Regions from separate parts of the Homo sapiens genome. Here regions 2, 3 and 4 are each linked to region 1. Evidence: promoter capture Hi-C in 16 types of primary human blood cells and fetal thymus (Javierre and others, 2016). All regions are on one chromosome and are shown on one strand. The core of a region is centred on a gene start or on the middle of the fragment in contact, and the rest is flanking DNA. Distances in the headings are between cores, read along the strand shown. Region 1 holds the start of NEK5 (NIMA related kinase 5). Region 2 holds the start of VPS36 (vacuolar protein sorting 36 homolog). Region 3 overlaps DHRS12 (dehydrogenase/reductase 12). Region 4 overlaps TMEM272 (transmembrane protein 272).

Evidence for each region. The method cuts DNA at HindIII sites, captures the fragments that hold promoters and counts their contacts. A CHiCAGO score of 5 or more calls a contact.
Region 2: a contact is called between the fragment with the promoter of VPS36 here and the fragment with the promoter of NEK5 in region 1, in 7 of 17 cell types (erythroblasts, M0 macrophages, M2 macrophages and 4 more). The highest score is 8.4, in erythroblasts.
Region 3: a contact is called between a fragment that was not itself captured here and the fragment with the promoter of NEK5 in region 1, in 1 of 17 cell types (naive CD4 T cells). The highest score is 6.5, in naive CD4 T cells.
Region 4: a contact is called between a fragment that was not itself captured here and the fragment with the promoter of NEK5 in region 1, in 9 of 17 cell types (erythroblasts, naive CD4 T cells, naive CD8 T cells and 6 more). The highest score is 7.8, in erythroblasts.

Annotation. Positions count from the first base shown.
Region 1 is chr13:52,127,738-52,130,437 of GRCh38, reverse strand. It overlaps NEK5 (NIMA related kinase 5), which reads left to right and starts at 1,365. Exons shown (of 24, transcript NM_001365552.1): 1 at 1,365-1,409. It overlaps LOC101929657 (a long non-coding RNA gene), which reads right to left and starts at 1,543. Exons shown (of 2, transcript NR_110306.1): 1 at 1-1,543. The HindIII fragment of the contact is 11,669 bases long and covers 1-2,700 here.
Region 2 is chr13:52,449,216-52,451,980 of GRCh38, reverse strand. VPS36 (vacuolar protein sorting 36 homolog) reads left to right here and starts at 1,347. Exons shown (of 14, transcript NM_016075.4): 1 at 1,347-1,482. The coding sequence starts at 1,387. RefSeq lists silencers at 1,101-1,160, 1,201-1,660 and an enhancer at 1,181-1,761. The HindIII fragment of the contact is 2,912 bases long and covers 1-1,966 here.
Region 3 is chr13:51,796,475-51,799,220 of GRCh38, reverse strand. All of the region lies in intron 2 of DHRS12 (dehydrogenase/reductase 12), which reads left to right. Among named protein-coding and RNA genes, the nearest start is that of DHRS12, 6.3 kb to the left of the region's middle. RefSeq lists enhancers at 1,490-1,569, 1,640-2,168. The HindIII fragment of the contact is 1,445 bases long and covers 548-1,992 here.
Region 4 is chr13:51,830,562-51,833,261 of GRCh38, reverse strand. All of the region lies in intron 2 of TMEM272 (transmembrane protein 272), which reads left to right. Among named protein-coding and RNA genes, the nearest start is that of TMEM272, 13 kb to the left of the region's middle. The HindIII fragment of the contact is 4,301 bases long and covers 1-2,700 here.

The DNA.
Region 1 (2,700 bases), core at 116-2,615:
AGAGATGAATTTTCAATACAATTTTATTTTTTATATTTAATAATTATCAGTATTGTGATACATTTTATTGTGATCAATTGTGTAGTACTAGTAATTTTAACAATTTAATCCAGAAAAACTAAAATTCTATGAGCAGGAAATATAAATTTCCATTTCTGTACTTCTTTCAGCAGTATGATAGGATGATCAATAAGACTTTCAAGTATGAAAAAGATAACGGGTAAAATTCTATCAGGAAAGTAGAATGAAGATATGATTTAATGAAGCATGTCTAAGAATTCTAGGGAAGAAATTTGGGTGTGGTCACTGACACGTGTAATTAAACAAAAACAAGTAGATCATATACCTACTAATATTTTGAGGGAATTTCACTGCCAAAGAAACTAACATTGGATATTCCAACTGCTAAACAACTTTTGGACTCCTGCTACGGGCTGCATTCACCCCCGCCGCGGCCACCCCCAATTCACACACTGAAATCTAACACCAATAACTAATAATGAGACTATATTCGGAGACAGAGACTTTAAAGATGCAATTAGATCAAAATGAGGCCTTTAGTTCAGCCCTAATCCAACTTGACTAGAGTGCTTACAAGAAGAAGAAATTTTTTGTGGCAGGGACGGGGAGGGGGCGGCGGAGAGATGATTTTAAGAAGGAAGAGTAATGATGTAAACTTAGGATTTTTAAGAGTTTTTTGTGGGTTTTTTTTGTGTGTGTGTGTGAGGTGGACGATGGAGGGTACCATATTACTGTAGTGTTTCGATTCAGTTGGATATATTTAACTTGCGTCACTATTTACAATTGCTGAAAATTACATTTTTTTCAACTACTTAAACATTTTAGACAGCAGCTTGATGTGCAAATCCAGAATGGGGCAGGGTGGGATGAGCACTGGGCGTGAGTGCAGACGCTTGGGCAGCGCCGGTTTCGTTAGAAAGTCCCTTGGCAGGCCGCCGCTGTGGCCCAAAGAGTAGGAAGCCGTTCCAGTCTCACGTCCACCTTTTGGCAATATTTGAGACCTTGTACAAGAAACACTCTTCCTGTATCAGTTTAGCTCATTTGTAAAACTGGGAGACTACTGCCTTGACGGGTTGTAAAGAAAAGAGAGAACGTTTGCGAAGCGTCTGGTGCACCTTAAGCAAGAGCGGGGAGCGCTACTGTAGACTGCAAAGCAAAGGAATCCCGACCCAAGGCAACGGGACGGTTGCGGGGTGACTCTGCCGGGTCTCCAAACTCCCTGGCGCCTGACCCTGCCTCGAGGTGGACTGGTCCCCAGGCCATTCCAGACCCGCGCCCCGCCCGCGTTTCCTTGCGCGGCTCCGCCCCGGCCGCAGGGAGGCGCAGCGGCCCCGGGAACCCGGATCCTTCCGGGACGCTTCGTTGGCCCCGCGGAGCCGGCGGAGCAGGTACGCTTGCAGGGGCCGCCCTTAGTTCTTGCCCGGAGCCGCCACAGGGCTTCGGGAGCTCGGCAGGGTGGGGGAAAGGGATGGAGTTTCGGCCTGGGGCGGCGGGGGCGGCCCAGAAAAGGCCTAGCGTCCTGGGCTGTGTGGGTGTAGCGTCCAGGGCGCGTCGGTCTCTATGGCAACGCTCCACACGCGGAGGTCGGGTACGGGTAAGCGTCTTGCCACTCACCCGCGGCCGCTTCCAGGGGCGGCCCTAGGGGAGAAGGAATTTTCCTAATTTGGGGGCTTCCACCCTTTGGTGCCACTTGGGCGGGAGGGTCGCGGGCCCTCAGTTCCCGGCGAGTCACCCCCGGCCCCAAGTCCGTATGCGTCTCTCTCAGAACCCGATCCTCCGGTGTCTGCAGCCTCTCCTGGCTGCGGAGCTGGTTCCCAGCCCCCTGCAACCCAGTACCGACTTCCCACCCTGACGTAAAATTATTCGAAAACAAGCCCCCTGCTCACCCCATTAACAACAACAACAAAACTGTATTATGCCCTAACTGTAGCATAAAGAGGAAATAGAAGGAAAGCAATAAGTAAGAAAGTACATATTTCAATCTGAAAATGCTTGGCACTACTACCCTTGGAAAATGTAGAGAAGTAGCCAGTAGCCGCGCCTGGGGAGTCGCCTGAACGTGACGGCAGCAAATGCAGATTGTTGGGTCTCCGGGACCAGGAGCAGCGTGGCCAGTGAAGCGCGTGGTTTTCCCAAATGGTGAACAATTCTTGGTAAACCTCCAAACCGAAGTGCAATCAAGCCTTGATTTACATGTAGTTGCATTCCTCGAAAAAAAAAAGAAGTGTTCATTAAAACTGCAAAAATACTTAGCATTTCGATGTAAAATAGAGTTTGGTTCTAGCCACAAACGGATTTTTCCACGCACAGGAATGTATAGGAAGACTCTCCAAGATTGTAGGGCCGCGGGGTAATCCTTTATTGTGCGGGACTGTCTCTCGAATCGCAGAATCCTACCATCTCAGGCCCCAACCACCTGTAAACCTCATGCCTCTGAATCTTGGGGAAACAGCTTCCCCACCCCCATATATTTCCAGAATTCCCCCTAGGGGGCAGTACGTCCCCACTAAGAAAGGCTGAACTATAAAAGTGCACAAGCCTAAGGACATTCCTGCTTTATAAAGGTGCGAAACACCGGATATAGTATCTTTCATTCTCAGAACAAACTTGCAAAACAGGTATTGTTATTCCATTTTAGAAATTAGGAAAGTGAGGTTTTGCCAGGTTAAGTGACTTACC
Region 2 (2,765 bases), core at 98-2,597, 320 kb before region 1:
ATATGTATCAATTGTAGAAGGACATCTATAAGCTGCTCCATTTATTTATTTATTTATTATTTATTATTATTATTTTTGAAGCAGAGTCTCGTTCTGTCGCTCAGACTGGAGTGCAATGGTGCGATCTCGGCTCACTGCAACCTCTACCTCCAGGGTTCAAGCGATTCTCTTGCCTCAGCTTCCCGAGTAGCTGGGATTACAGGCACCCGCCACCACGCCGGGCTAATTTTTTGTATTTTTAGTAGAGACAGGGTTTCTCTATGTTAGCCAGGCTGGTCTCGAACTCCTGACTTGTGATCCGCCCGCCTTGTCCTCCCAAAGTGCTGGGATTACAAACGTGAGCCACCGCGCCCGGCCAGGTGTTCCATTTATAAAGCAAAATACAAAAATGAAATGGCTAGGGGCACGAGGCCGCCTGGTGGGTGAGAGCAGCGGCCATGGATGGCTTTGCGCAGACCAACAAACAGCTAAATTATAGAGGAACTACATATTGAAATGTAAATTCACGCATGAGGTCTGTATTAATATTGAAAATGCCTAAATAAAAATAATCTTTTTTTTCTGAGCCTGGGGGTGGGGGAGTGGAGTGGCGTGGGGGAGTTGGGGTGGAGGGGGAAAGGGTCTTTCTATGTCGCCCACTGGTGTCAAACTCCTGGGTTCAAGCAATCCTCCCGCCTCAGCTTCGGAAGCAGCTGGGAATACAGGCGCGCGCATCAAGCCCGGTTAAATAAAATCTGTTTCCCCCAGTTAAAAAAAAATTAATTTGTGTGGGTACATAGGTGTATATATTTCTGGGGTATATGGGATATTTTGATACAGGCATACACTGTATAATAATCACATCAGGGTAAATGAGGTATCCGTTACCTCAAGCATTTATCCTTTGTGTTACAATATAATCTTAAAGGGAAAAAAAGAGCAGCACAGGTAGTACTGACTGCAGCTGTACAGAAACAATGCGTGCCATAAATATTCATTTGAAAGAGAGGGGTTATGATTATTTACAATCATTAGCGAATGTAGCAACATTCTGGGCACTGACAAGAAAACTGCCACAAACATGCAGGCATAATGCACAATAAGCAAGTCCAAGCTGTGGTCGGGGCTCCCTCGCGTCCCTGTAAGCTCTGAATTTAGAATGGGGTGGACCGCCTGCTGATCAAGGGTTCTGAAAGGCCGGCGGCTAATGGACCGCCAGGGGGCGCTCCACGCACGTCTCCACGTCCCCGGGCGCACCTCGCAGCCGCGCCCGCTCGCTGCCAGGCCGCTCCCTCCGTCCCTCACCCGCCCCGACTCGCTTCCGTCCCGTCCGACGCTAGGGGGCGCCGCAGGCTGCCTGGCGCGCTGCTCGCGGCCTCGGAGGGCCGGGGCTGGGTGGCAGCGGCCATGGACCGCTTCGTTTGGACCAGCGGCCTCCTGGAGATCAACGAGACCCTGGTGATCCAGCAGCGCGGGGTGCGAATCTACGATGGCGAGGAGAAGGTAGGGCGTCTGCCAACCTTCCCAACGGGCTGGCGGAAGGGACCCCCGGTGGGCGCGCGGCCCGGCTCAGCGCGGCCCGGGTCGGCGCGGCCCGGTCCCCGGCTTAGCTCACGGCCCTCGGCGGCCCGGCAGGCCTCTGTGCGGGGTGCAGCGCTCTTGCGCTCCCCGCCGGTCGGTAGCACGTGGCGTGGGGCGCTCGGCTGCCTCCCCAGCGCGGGTCCCAACTTTGGCACGGTTCCCAGCAGGCGCGGATCGCGGCCGCTTCCCTCCGCCCGGAATGCTTCCGGGAGCGCACAGCTGCAGTGCCCGGGAGAAGGAGCGCTCGCCGTCTGCGGGCGCCGGGCGGCGATCCGGCAGTCGACTTCCTTGGCGTGGTTCCAGACCCCCTGACGACACCAACCTCGGCGTCGGCACCGGACAGCCCCGTTTCGCCTTTCTGTGAGGAGGGCGCGGTGGCCGTACAGTCCGTGCCCCAGCGGAAGCTTTAGCTTGGACCTTATGCAGTCGGAGGGATTAGCATATCTGGGCAGAGGGGTGAGGGATTGCTTCGAAAGGATTTCCTAAAGAGGTATCAGTGCTTCATTGGAATGCCCTTGCCAAAGGCTATTGGGTTTTTGTTTTGTTTTCTAATTGCTTTAGAAAGGCGTTCTGAGCGTGTTTTGTAAAGTGTTATATTAATAGTAGACCGTGCCTTGTAGTGCAAGCATAAATCTTAGAAGGTGCGTTTGCAAATCGAGAGGAGAAATAGGAAGTGTAAGTAAATATTTTGTAGATACTTTACTGAAACTATGAAATATCTTGTCCTGGATTGAAATGGATAAACTGGAATTAGAAAAATTTTAAAACTCATTTACCCACAAGCATTTTTGGTTTCCAGAAGTTTTAATTTGCTACCTCTCTTCCCTTGCCGTTTTATTAACGACACTTTCCGCTGTACTTTGATATAAGTTCCTCAACTCAGCTTTTCCTGGTAAGTGCTTACAGCTATTTAGAGGCACAGGTGACATTGGACCCAGGTCCTCTGACTCTCTTAGGGCATTTTCTATGGGCTGTGTTGCCTGTATTAGTGAGTAAAGGTCTTTTCCTTAAATAATTTGCTTGGACCTAACTTCACTTACTGCCTTAGCACTTCTTAATTTAATTAATTAATTTATTTATTTTGAGACAGAGTCTCGCTCTATCGCCAGGCTGGAGTGCAGTGGCGCGATCTGGGCTCACTGCAACCTCCGCCTCCCAGATTCAAGATCCTGCCTCAGCCTCCTGAGTAACTGGGATTACAGGCG
Region 3 (2,746 bases), core at 21-2,520, 330 kb after region 1:
AAAAAACAAAAACAAAAACATGAACACCTGGTCTCTAACTCATGTCTTCTCAATGAGACTCTCCTGGGGTGAGAGACAAGGGGAGGGGGAGCCTCAAAGTCCACTGCAATTTGGATGTGGATGGTAGTTATGAACCAAGGCCCCCAAAATACCTGGAGAGAGGAGTGCATTGAACTAAACTTCCTCCTTGCTGGGGTCCAGCCTCCAGGGCTAGAGCAGCCTCCCGCTTCCCTCCCCTAAGCTTGACTATAAAGAGGTGCTTCAGGTGCACTGTAAAGTCTTCAGTCAGCAGAAGTCTTCCTCATGGTAAATGCCAGAATTTCCTGCATGAGCTCAACGATCCTGGGTCACCAAATGGCTCTGCAGTGGCTAGAAAAGTTTGCTGCATCTCTCCAGAGCCTCTTCAGGAAAAATGGATGTTCCAGCAGAAGGTGGGGAACTAGGTTGTGAATTTATCACTTTTTAAGATGCTGAAGATGTTTTCTTTTTTCCTCTCTCTAAATCCAAGTTAGGCATTTTTCAGGGGACTATTATATCATTTGAAGCTTTATTTAATTATCTGCCAAGTCAGGGAGAGGATTAATTGCATCTTAGCAGCTGGGAAGCACTCTGAAGTGCGGAGAGGAGGAGAGAAGAGGGGCTAGTGTTGTGGTTAGCCTGTAGCCTCCCATGAAACACCCCATTTAATCAAGTGGGTGATTTTTAGTAAAGAAAGCAGACTCCATAACGATTCGTTCTTAGCTGCCACGGCGAAGGCATTCTGCTTTAAATTGACCTTGATTGATGATGGTGTGGCATTTGCTGGGATAATATGAGGGCTGCTGATGGACTCAACATTCAGTCAATACTTGAGTCTCTACTACATGCTAGGCAAGTGGCTGTCTACTTTGGCTGAACATTACATCACCAGGGGAGCTTGTAAAACATACCCAGTCCTGGGCCTATCGCCTAGATCTTTAAAAGCTCCCTACATGAGTCTAAAGTGCAGCCAGGTTTAACACATCTGGGTCAGCTACTATGCTAGATGCTAGGGAGGCATATGTGACCCAGATCAATGTTTCTTATCCTTGATGTGTTCAGGCCCTCAAAAAATCAGGATGTTATTCCAGACGCACTGTCAGCACAGGTAGGCAATAAGGTTCCAGCACCTCCCTCACCATCGCCCTTGCTGCTCTTAACTCTGGGAACCACCCATCTAGGCTTAACAGAAGAGTGTCAACTGTGAGCCCATATGTCTTCATTTTTCATTAGGAAGAGCTGGTTTCTGTAGCTCTCGCTGTAACTCACAGATGGTTTCATTGAATTCCACCAGGTGGCACAGTTCACCTGGTTTGTCGAGATCAAGCCCCAGCAGAAGATGCCAGGGGTGAGATCATCCGGGAGAGCGGTAACCAGGTGAGCAGCTCCTCACCCCTCCTGCTGGGTTTCCTTGCCTCCATGGTCAGCTGTGAGGAGGCTGGACTCCTACCCGCTTTCCCTGGGTTGAAGAGGGCCTGTGTTTGTGCTTCTGCTTTGGAAGCAGCCTCGGCCAGCAGGGAGCTGGGCCCTGCTTTTGAATGGCTAGGTTTGACAAGGGGATAAGTGGGGGCACTGAGGCTTGACCGCATGGTCCTGAGCTGCCTGTGAAACCAGCAGAGGCCAGCAGGCAGAGGCCCATTACACTGGACAGTGATACTTCCAGTCTCCTCACCTCAGAGGGAGCCCACATCAGCAACACACAGCAAGGGTCACCCGGGTGCCACGGAGCCATGCATTGACCCGATGTGCTCTAATAAAGAGAAACACCGGCAGCATTTGGGTCTTGATGAGAGCTACTTTCTGACACGAGCCTTCAGAGCTGCCTCACATTTTGTGGTCTTTCTGTTCTGAAAGAGCTGGAACCAGGATTGGCTACATAATTAGTGGGGCTCGGTGCAAAATGAAAATGCAAGACCCTTGTGTAAAAGTTATTTAGAATTTCTACACAACAAAGGCAGGACATTAAACCAAGCTTGAGGCCTTTCCAGTCGCAGGGCGTGTGCAGCTGTATAGATCATATTCCCATGATCCATCGTGTAGCCATAAGGCTGCCCTGAATGGAAAACCCTGACCCCCAAAAGGACCCTCAGTCATGGCTGCTCGCTCACTGTCACTAAAGAACATCCTCATTCCATTCCTACCTCTTCTCTAGGAGACCCCACAATTGGAGGGCCTGTAGGAGGGAAGCTGGGGAGGGACAGACAGTACCCACCCTCAGGCATGGACCCTGGTCAAAGAGAAGAATGCCCCTCTCTAGGATGGAATATTTTGCATCAACTTTGAAATAACATTTTCACACCAAGTGTCTGTTCCTTTCCCTTTCTCATGGAAATCCCCAGTCTCATGCCATCAGGTGCCTTACAGAGGCTTAGTGCTGGCGGCAAGTGTGAGGGTCTCTAAATCTTCCTCTAATGTCTGCAAGTGCCGCTGCGATCTGCGGGCTGCAGTTCTCGAGATTGAAAGCTGGCTGTCTGCCTGCTGATAACTTTCGGTGGTGCTGCTGCAGGATGCAACAAGAATACTAATCTCAGGCCACGGACAGGAGGAGGTTTGCCTGGATTCCAGCCTGCTGTGGTGTGGGCCACAGGCTTTAAAAAGTATATTTAAATGAAAAATGATGATAATATGGATCTGTTTGGCTTATATCTAATTCCACCATGTTTAGGAGGGGTAGAGAGCTGAAAAGGGGAGCAAGCATGTTCCTGCACTGGGGAGAAAGCAAGCCCTT
Region 4 (2,700 bases), core at 92-2,591, 300 kb after region 1:
ATCTAGTTTCCATCTGATCTCCTTTTCTCTGTTATGATGGATGATGGACGCTCAGCTCCATTTCATGATTTGCCACTCCCCCAAACCACTCTGAGTGTCTCTGTCTCTCAAATCTTTTGTTTCCTCTGGGCTTTTTTCCTTTGACAGAAAAGCCATCTCCCCACAACTCAGCCCGTCAAAAATCCTACCCATCCATCAACACCCAGTACCAATATCACCTCCTCCTTGAGGCCTTCCTTGATTTCCTGGGGACTCTTTCCTCCTCCAGGCTTCCTCACTGCATTGTGCGCTGCCCCTGCTGGTCCCTTCCACACACTGATTTGTACTGTCCCTTGGGTGCACATCTCATCTCCCTTAAGAGGTGGTGAAGTCCGCATTGCCGAGGCTTCTCATGCTCACTTTGCATCTACCCAAACCTTGGTCGAATGCAAGAATGAATAGCTGAATATCTATAAAGAAGTTCATCTATATTCAAAGGGGATTAAGTGCTAATAAAAATACCCCCTCATGCAAATTGCTATTGGCTGTGACCTCTGGGGATTAGTGGGTGGCTGTGGCAATGCAGGGTGCTTGTGCAGGGCTGGAGAAGAGGGGTGGGTGGAAACGAGGCAGAGGCAGAATGACTGAACATACCAGGAGAGGGCAGAAGTGGTTTGGGTGACTGGGGTTTGGGCACCATTACAGATACAGGGAGGTGGAAAGGGCAGTTTGGAAAGAGGAGTTTAGTTTGAGTTTCTCTTCCTGCACTCTTTGCCAGTTGCCTTCTGGGTATTTGATAGCTCAGTGGAGCCCCGAAGGATGGTGTTGCAGAGAAAAACTGCTGGGTCCCAGTCTCAGTTTCTGCACTAAACTAAGCAAAAGATCTGGGGATATATTAATACTTGCTATTCATAGGAAACAGACTCCGGAGATCCTTGAGAACAGACCAAAAGCTACCCACTTTTCCTATCAAGATTACCCATTTAAAAATGCATTGAATTCTCCCAGCTACCTATTTTGACTGATAACCGGATGGCAGCGTATCTTTAACACCTGCTACCATGCTGCTCCCTCTGACAATCACGGGCAGCAGCAATCAGCAGTCGTGAGAGCAGCCCACCCTGAAATGCACTGCAAGAGGGGAGTGAGGATCCAGAGCCAGCAACCCAAAAGCCACCCTGAGGAGGGCACCCTTCCCAATAGTCTGTCTTTTCCCAACCTTCAGTAAGTCAGGAATCAGCCTATCTGTGTTCTTAGCATAAAGAATGACTTGACTCCAACGTTTTGATTCTAATATCCTCCCACTATTGCTCTAATTTTGAATTATTTTCTCCTTTGGACCCTCAAGCTGAGTTTATTTTCACCCAGCTCTTTCAAACTGACTTTCTAGATGGAGACTCTCATGGCATCAGAAGCCAGAATGTGGCACTCTGAGTTGCATTGGAATTGGTGCTCAATAGACCAGAAGGCAGGACAGTATTAACTAGTGGTGGTCACTGCTGTCAAGCCGCTGCAATCGCAACAGCGGCATCACCAGGAAGCTCAGCCTCTGTTCCAGAGAGCTCCAAAGACTGAGGAGTGGGTAACCAGATGCCCCAGGAGGCAGGGGGATCAGGCGAGAGTGGGGCTCCCCAATTCCTGACTGTGGCTTGGGTGTCCTTATTAGGACCAAGTGGTAAAGAAGGCCTCGTGCTGGTAACTGCTGATGATTTCCATCCCAGTGGATCCTACAACCTAGCCCAACCCCAGCACCTCACACCATGCTGAGCAGACAGCTGTAGGAAGCCCCTGAAGATTCTCTAGCCAGCTTACAGAAACAGGCTACGATCACCTGAGAGTTGCTTTTATTTTATTTTATTTAGATGAGGTCTTGCACTGTTGCCCAGGCTGGAGTGCAGAGGCGGGATTATGGTTCACTACAGACTTGAACTCCTGGGTTCAAGCGATCCTTCCATCTCAGCCAGCCTCCCCAGTAGCTGGGACCACAGGTGCACCACCACGCCTGGCTAATTTTTGTGTTTTTTGTAGAGACGGGGTTTTGCCATGTTGCCCAGGTGGGTTTCAAACTTCTGGGCTCAAGAGATCCACCTGCTTCAGCCTTCCAAAATGCCGGAAATACAGGTGTGAGCAACCATGCCAGGGTGGAAGTTGCTTTTAAATGCAGATTTCCAGGCGCCATTTGTACTGATCCTGGTTTGTGAGATCTAGAGCGGCCATTGAGACCCTGAGAGTCATGGCTCTGAGGTGCAGCGAGCAAGAGTGAGCCTCATTAGACTTCGAGCAAGAGTGAGCCTCATTAGACTTTAAGCAAGAGTGAGCCTCATTCGACCTCGAGCAAGAGTGAGCCTCATTAGACCTCGAGCAAGAGTGAGCCTCATTAGATCTCAAGCAAGAGTGAGCCTCTTTAGACCTAGAGTGGTGATCCAGAGAAGCGGACTCACTGGATGAAGCCAGGGCACAGCCTGAGAACAGGGCCAGGGAGTAAGGCCGCATCCACTTGGGAGTTAAGGTGTAGAACAGTCTCATCTCTGCTCAGACACCATGAGAACCACAGTGTATACCTCACCTGTTGTTTTCTCGATTCTTCATTTGATTCCGAAGTGGGGGCTGAAATAAAGGGGAAGCCTGGGTCTCCTTCCATCAGGAATGGAAAATAATAATAGTAATGATAATGGCCAGCATTTATCGGTGTTTATTATGTGCCAGACCCTGCGTTTAGTG